Linked DNA regions of Homo sapiens: region 2 is linked to region 1. Evidence: promoter capture Hi-C in 16 types of primary human blood cells and fetal thymus (Javierre and others, 2016). All regions are on one chromosome and are shown on one strand. Each heading gives the region's core, a stretch centred on a gene start or on the middle of the fragment in contact. The rest is flanking DNA. Distances are from core to core; before and after follow the strand shown. Region 1 holds the start of GLIPR1 (GLI pathogenesis related 1). Region 2 has its middle 59 kb from the start of PHLDA1-AS1.

The links. The method cuts DNA at HindIII sites, captures the fragments that hold promoters and counts their contacts. A CHiCAGO score of 5 or more calls a contact.
Region 2: a contact is called between a fragment that was not itself captured here and the fragment with the promoter of GLIPR1 in region 1, in 4 of 17 cell types (monocytes, neutrophils, M1 macrophages and 1 more). The highest score is 8.3, in monocytes.

Annotation. Positions count from the first base shown.
Region 1 is chr12:75,477,983-75,482,160 of GRCh38, reverse strand. It overlaps GLIPR1 (GLI pathogenesis related 1), which reads right to left and starts at 1,406. Exons shown (of 6, transcript NM_006851.3): 1 at 1,107-1,406; 2 at 82-327. The coding sequence starts at 1,280. The HindIII fragment of the contact is 5,495 bases long and covers 1-4,178 here.
Region 2 is chr12:75,969,638-75,973,812 of GRCh38, reverse strand. No RefSeq gene overlaps it. Among named protein-coding and RNA genes, the nearest start is that of PHLDA1-AS1, 59 kb to the left of the region's middle. The HindIII fragment of the contact is 4,874 bases long and covers 1-3,695 here.

The DNA.
Region 1 (4,178 bases), core at 157-2,656:
ACATTTTCTTAACTTCATAGTACAATTTTTCTCCTCATACTTGAAAAGACAGTTTCAAGATAATATAGGGCAGATCCTTACCTGAGTGTAGTGGCCACAGACTTTTTTGCATATCCGAGTCTTGAAGTCATAGTCCTGGATTTCGTCATACCAGTTTGTGATGGCGGAAGACACAGAAAAAATGGGCACAGACCCAGTCCAGATGTTCTCTCCCAGTGAAGTGAAGTTTGGGTGCAGCTTGTGGGGTGGCTTCAGCCGTGTATTATGTGAAAACTGGCAATTGCTGGCCCATGCTTTTGCAATTTGGGCTAGTGCTGGGTCCCAAGTCTGCAAAAATAAACATTAAACAATAGGGGGTTCATCTGAAATGTAACTGGGGTGAGTACAGTGGGAATTTGAATGGAAAACGAGGTGAGATAAGGAGAGAAGATACCACTGCATATGAGTCCTCTATAAATATGGTCTTCAAGCACTGAGTAGGGCTGGTAGGAAACGTGACAATTTAGTTTCATGGAATTTAGAATCTAAGTGAGGAAAACTGACATTTCACTGAAGGCTAATTGTGGGCAAAATAGTGTGTGCCGTGTTTCACAACATTATTCCATAACCACAACAGCCCATATCCTAAGAAGTTCAGAAAGGTTAAAAACCAGCTTAAAGCCACAGATCTGAAATTCAATCCCAAGCCTTACTGAATCAAAATCCCATCCTTTCCCCAGATGCCATTCTGCCTACCTGAGCAACTCAGTACTTTGTCAGCAGCAAAAAAAGTAAATTTAGAGACAAAAAAAAAAAAAAAAAAAGAAAACCAAATCACAAAAATTAACAGGGAGGAAGATAACAAAAAGAGAAGTAAAATCCACTGAAAACCAGAAAACAGGAAGTGTCCAAAGAGAAGTAAAATGTGCTGTGGCACTTGCTTATAACAACAGTTGGGTAGACAGAGCTAAACTGGATGTGTTTTGATCACAGACTGTGAATTTACTGCATACATTAATCACAATGAAAAAAAAATCATTCAGTATTACGAAGGTATTAACACCAAAGTCAATACACATTAGTTGTTTCTGACTGACTGACGCCACAATTAATGATATTTTCCTTACCATGTATAGCATATCACTGGCTGTTGGTTTCACCTCTGATCGGAACTTGTTATGGATTCGAACGCAGTCTTTGATGAAATCTTCATTTTCGATATCTGGCAAAATATTTGCTGTGTGTGAATAATTGGAGACAAAAGAAACCATCCAGGCTATTGTAGCAAGTGTGACACGCATGCTTTGTCTGGCATGGAGCCTTGGGAGGCTGCAGTCCAGAGCCGCCGCAGTTTCTGAGAGTGTGATTGCCTGAGTGCTCAGCCCACAGCTTTGCAAACCTAGCCGACTTCAGCTTTGAGAAAACAGAACAGAGCATGAGTTCATCACTAGTTTTAAGAAACGGGTTTCTCCATATATGGTGTGCAGCTCACTTTGTGTTCTTAACCCTGTCTTTTCAGTGGTTTTCAGTGACACAGCACCTATTACGACATAGATTTTTATGAGGCTGTGTCAGACTTCCTTTTGAATTGGGAGATATTTCCAAAGAAAATTCTGAAGTCTCCAGGAATAATAGTCTCCAATTTTTAATGGAGGTTGCGGTGATAAAATGAAAATATCTCTTACTTCTATAAATGCCTCGCAAAATGCTTTCAGAAATCTTTTTCTTTTTAGAGTCATATCAACACATAGTGGTTGGAATATCTGGTTAACATCATAAACTTGACCTAGAATTCATTCACGATGGTAGAAACATGTAAGCGTGTATGTGTGTGTGTGTGTGTGTGTGTGAGAGAGAGAGAGGGAGAGAAAGAGAGAGAGAGAGAAAGAGAGAGAGGGATTGAGAGGGAGAATAGTAGAAAGAATACAGGACTCAAGTTGAGAATTTAGTTTCTGTTTCTAACTAGCTGTAAGACCTTGGACAGGATACAAAACTCTCTAAACCTCAGCCACCTATTGAATGAGACTATGGGACCTTTTCTGCTTCCTTAATTACAGAGGTTTGGCAGGATCAAATGAACTAGCTAATATTAAATTCCTGCCTTGTATATTCACCTTAGTAATACAGAAATAAAAACACAGTCACTGGCCCCAAGGAGCTTACAGTGGTAAGAGCTGTGAGATGGTGATGACAAGGATGTTACAACAGGGGCTGTTGGAGATCTGGATATAGGAAAGCACAGGTAGATATGGACACACAAGAGAGCATACTTAACCCATTCTGGAAACGGCAGAGCCGGCCTACATACAGCAGGTGAGGTCTTTGCTGAGGCTAGAATCAGCTAGGTGTTGATCAAGTGAAAAAGCGCTGGAGAGGAGAAGGGAATTAGAGGGATAGGAACTATATATCTAGTTGTGAAATTGAAGACATGGTGTTATGGCAAGAATAGAGCAAGAACCTCTCCATATTGTCTCCCTCTGTAAATATGGTCTGTAAATAAGTAGTGATTCTGACTGGTAGAAAACTTGATACCTGGTGTCATGGAATTCAGAATCCAAATGATGCTTTCATGCCACTTGGGGGAGAGAAGTTAAGAGTCAGATCAGGAAGGATTTCTCAATTCTGCTAATGATTTTTTATTTTATCACCAAAGTCATGGGAAGTTATTGGAGGATTTTAGCTGTAGGTGGGGTTTAGACCTGGTTTTAGAAAACACGTGTATTTTAGAAAATTAAGAGAGATGGAAAATGGAATGAGGTGGGGAAATATTTCTAATGCAAACAAAAAGTAAAGAAACATTCCAGGCACACCTGTAGCCCCACCTACTCAGAAAGTTGAGGTGGGAGGATAGCTTGATCCCCACAATTTGAGGCTGTGAAGAGCTATAGTCAGGTCACTGCAATCCAGCCTGGGTGACAGAGCGAGGCCCCATCATTAAAAACAAACATACGGGCCAGGCGCGGTGGCTCACGCCTGTAATCCCAGCACTTTGGGAGGCTGAGGAGGGCGGATCATCTGAGGTCAGTTGTGCAAGGCCAGCCTGACCAACATGGTGAAACCCTGTCTCTACTAGAAATACCAAAATTAGCCTGGCATGGTGGCACATGCCTGTAATCCCAGCTACTTGCGAGGCTGAGGCAGGAGAATTGCTTGAACCTGGGAGGCGGAGTTGCAGTAAACTGAGATTGTCATTGCACTCTAGCCTAGGCAACAAGAGTGAAACTCCATCTCAAAAAAGCCCAACCAACCAACCAAACAAACAAAAACCATTACAGAACCATAAGGCAGAATTACTATTGCCACACACACACAAATAACCTTAAAAATACTCATACATAAATTCAAATTTTGTCCAGGCTGCCTAATTTCTACTAGCATGTCTTTACATTATAGGAATCTGAGATAAGCAGTGTCTTATCCAGGTCTCATAGGCAACTTTTTGATCAATGTAGTGACAATAAACAAAGAGACCTTTCTCCAGTTTGAAGTGGTAACCATGTCTAAGGCCTGCTTCTCATCTTCTTCTGGGTCTCTGTGAGCTAGACTGAGTTTTGAATACAACAACAAGAAAGAGGAAACCCCACGAGCAAGCAAAATCAGTGGTTTTTTTGGTTGCTTGCGTAATCCCTGTTATACACATACAACTCCCAAGAATGAGCAATGTTATCTTGGTCTTGAAATGATTTAATATTTTTTCTCTACTTTCCTGAAAATAATCAGCAAAAGGGAAAGTCTGCCGTCACAGAGATGATTTTTGTGTTATTGTGCAGACCAGGTTAGCTCCTTAGAGCTACAACTCTAAAACTTTTCAATTCACACTACACGTTTGCACCAAAAGTCCAGAGAAGTGGTTTGCCACAGAACAGGAACTTTTACTTGGAAGCAAATGTAAGCCTGCACTGCTTAGAAGGCTTTGAACTTTGCTATGACTTTTTCCACTTCTTAACCCAAGTCTTCACCATGATCTCTTTGATAATTATGCACGTGTGTTAAGACAGAGAGATTGGTTTTTAGTGCTCATCACTCATGGTAGCATTTTAAAAGATTTTTAACTTTCTTTTTAATTCTTCTCTGTATCGTTTAATTTTTTTACAGCAAGAACATGCTATCTTTCATAGTAATAAAATAAACTGCAATTATTTTGGAGAGTCATGGGATCTTTAAAATCATGCACAAATTCATACATATACATTGCCTGA
Region 2 (4,175 bases), core at 9-2,508, 490 kb before region 1:
GTTTTATTTTAAACAATTTTCATTTTTTTGCATGAATTTTAAAAACACAATTATGTAATTGCAAGTACTACAAAAAGAAGTTGCTTGTTTGTCATTGATAGGAATAATTAAAAAAAAAAAAGTCATATGTAAGACTCAATGGTAGGGAAATAATGTGGATTTTACTAGGAGATGGAGCAGGAACCTGACAAGAATAAAACCACATGTGTCATTTTCCCTGCTCTTGTCATTGCTGTTTCTACAATGGCAGCAAAAACTTGGGTTATGTTTTCATGGATATTAGTCTCTTCTCCAAGTCATTGTAGAAGCATCATTGATCTGTTTTTTCACTTTGCGTAAGTTACCAAATTTTTCCATATATCTCAAATAGTTAGTATCACACAGTGTTAGAATTGGAAAGGCCCTCCAATGTTTATCTATGAGGAAATTGAGTTTCAGATGGAGAGGTGATTTGTCTAACATTAGTGGCTAGTTAGTAGCAGAGCTAGTTCTGCTCTTCTTCCTCCAAAATGGAATTCCTGAGTTATTTGTTTTCCTAAGATCTATTCCATGATTGACCAGACTACACTATGCTGCCAGCTCCTGTCTGTATCTAACACAGATATTTACATAATGCCTCTCTTGACAATATAGTAATATATATTGAAAGTCTACTGTAAGTAAGCGATGAGCTGAGGGCTTTACACACATGATGTTATTAATCTTCACCCTAACACTTTAAGAGGAATGTTGTTATTGTTTTCATTTTACAGATGAGAAAACAGAGAGACTAAGTCAACGATTCCTTAACTAGCTTTAAAAAGTCAGATTATTCAAGGCCAGGTGCAGTGGCTCATGCCTGTAATCCAAACACTGGGAGGCCAAGGTGGGAGGATCACTTGAAACCAGGAGTTCAAGACCAGCCCAGACAACAAAGTGAGACCCATTTCTACCAAAAAAAACCATATTAGCCAAGCATAGGGGTGCACATCTGTGGTCCCAGCTACTCAGGAGGCTGAGACGGGAGGATCATTTGAGTTCAGGAGTTCAAGCCTGCAGTGAGTCACAATGGTGCCACTGTACTCCAGCCTGGGTGGTAGAACAAGACCTTGTCTCTTAAAAAATTAGATTATCTTGAAGAACAAAATAATGATAGCATTGAATTAAAACTCAGAATAAAATAAATATCCACGAGTCCATACTGATATTGATAAGTAATTGAAAAAATGAAGAGAAGGCACAACTTTTCCTTACAGAACTCTTCCTGGAAAATTCTAACTAATAAAGGTAGAAGGAAGGAAATAGAAACTCACCATTAGAATACCCCATTAATAATTGTTGCAGACATCAGTGTGTGGAAGTTTGAGGAGAAACACAATATTTACTCTCTCAGAGTATCTCCCTCAAGATTATTAATCACAAATGGAGACATACTAACTTGACAGCAGAAAACTCCAGCAGACACCACCTTAATTGAGTGATCCAGGTTAACCTCACCAGTAGTGAGATATAATGATATCTCCTAACCCAAAACGATACACTGAGAAGGGCACTTCACTTTGGTGGCATTCTTGCTAAAAATGTAAAACATCAATCTCATCTTGAGAAAACATCAGACAAACACAAATTGAGCAACATTCTATAAAATATTTACCACTCATCTTCAAAAGTGTCTAGGTCATGAAAGTCAAGGAAAGACTAAGGAACTGTCATAGTGTGGCGGAGACTAAGGGGACATGACGACAAAATGTAATGTGGAATCCTGTAAGAGAAAAAGATTTTGGTGGAAAAACTGGTGAAAATTGAATAAGTATCACTCCATGTAGGTATAGCATTGTGTCAATGTTAATTTCTTATCTTTGATAATTGTGTTATGGCTATGCAAGTTGCTAACATTAAAAGAAGCTAGGTAAAGGACATATGGAAACTGTCTGTACTGTTTTTGCAACAAATTTTTCTTTTCTTTCTTTCCTCCTTTTTTTTTTTGTTTTGTTTTGTTTTTGAGACAAGGTCTTGCTCTGTCACCCAGGCTGGAGTAAAGTGACATAACTCACTGTAGCCTTAAACTCCTGGGCTCAAGTGATCCTTCTGTTTCAGCCTCCTGGGTAGCTGGGTAGCTGGAACAGGTGCATAGCACCAGGCTCAGCTAATTTTAAAAATTTTTGTAGGGATGGTGTATTAGTCGATTCTCATGCTGCTAATAAAGACATACCTGAGACTGGGTAACTTATAAAGGAAAGAAGTTTAATTGACTCACAATTCCACATGGTCGGGGAGGCCTCAGGAAATTTACAATCATGGCAGAAGGTACCTCTTCACAGGGTGGCAGGAGAGAGAATGAGTGCTCAGCAAAGGGGGAAACCCCTTATAAAACCATCAGCTATCATGAGAGCTAACTCATTATCATAAGAATCATGTGGTAACCCCCACCCCCCATGATACAATTATCTCCTCCTGGTCCCTTCCATGACGCATGGGGATTATGGTAACTATGATTCAAGATGAGATTTGGGTGGGGACCCAACCAAATGATATCAGATGGGGTCTTGTCATGTGCAACTTTTCTTTAAGTGTAAACGTATTTCAAAATTGAACCAGGTCCCATTTAAGACTTACTAAATCAGAATTTTGCCAGTTCGTATGATCCAGAACTCTGTACTGTCCTGGGTGACCCCTGTGTCTGAGTTTGCATATGTAGGAAGTGGTAGGACCAGGATTTGAACCTAGGTCTGCCTGATTGCAAAGCTCTTCGCCAGAGCAGGCTGCCTAATAGATACTTGAAGTTAAGTGGAAATCCAGATTAAAAATATCAACAATGTTTGAGATAAAAACACTCAGTGAAAATTATTGTATTTTTATATCTTGTTCTTTTAAATATACAGAGATGATGTTTGGTGATTAAATTGAACTAAAGACTAAATCCTTCTTCCTGATCCTAATTCCCAAGTCATCTTCATTTATTTTAAATAGGCAGCGTAATTATCTCAACCAAATAGGCTATTCCTGAGTTATAGTACCAAAACTTGCTCCATTGTTGGTAGAGAAGAACTCAAAACTGTAATTGCAAATGTCACTGTTGTAAAGTATGGTCAAATCATAAGAATTTAATGATATATGCATTTTGGACTAAGTAAAAAGAGCAAAATCAAATTCTAAAGATAATTATCCAAGCGTGGTTAAAAAAATCAAGGCCTGTTTAATCTGTTTTCTCTCTCATTTGGCCCAGTTCATCTCTCAGATGGCCTCAGACCCTGGCAAGTAGAAGTTCTGAGCAGGCTGGAATTACCCACACTTGGGGAGATAGGTTGCCAAAGAGGTGTGGCTAGGAGGGTGATGAAAAAGGCTCTGTGCCCAAGGCTTCTTCCTTCTCACTAACTTTGGTGCCAGGCACCCTATTAGTGCCTAGAGATGTAGAGATGAATATGGCACAATCCCTGCCTTCAAATCACTCCTGGCTTAGTTTGGGTGAGAGAACTATGGATGGCTCAGAGCTGGGGATTGGACAAGTAAGGGCAAAAAGAAGGGAAAAATTGCTATTGGAACAAAAACTGATTCTCACCATTTCACATACTAGGAGACTGACATGAGTTACCCAGGTGTGATGGCTCTTTGACTTAAAAATTAAACTTGAACTACTTCTTTTTGAGTAGTCAGCCTCTCCTCCTCTGTGGCTGGGCCTGTGGTCTGGAAGGAGAGAAGGAGATTCAGAGAAAGCTTTTGGCTTTGCATAACAAAGCAGCAGGAATTGAGGACTGTCACCTGGCATCTCAAAGGCAACTGGGAATGAGTAGAGCGGTGTGGAAGCTGGGTGCAGCCTGTGCTGACTCAAAGCAGGCAATCTCCTCCGCGTTTCCCCAAATTCTTCGGAGAAAGGAGAACCTTAAAAGGGATGGGGTGAATGGACCCTCTGTCACATAGGAAAGTGAAGAATTGCAACATAATGCAGTGGAGTCATGTGCTGCTTGGGATGAGATCACAGAGGAGCGTCTGCCTAACTTTGATGGGGCAAGGGTGGGGGTTGGAGGTGTGAAAACTTCACAGAAGACATCATGTCTCAAGTTTATACAAAATTATGAATAGGAGTTCATCAGATGTCTAAGGAAAAAAGAGCTTTCCAGAAAAAGGGCTCATACATTAGTGAGTAACCCCTTCCCAACCCCACCCCTCCCCATTTGAGTTTTTTCTTGGGTGAGAGA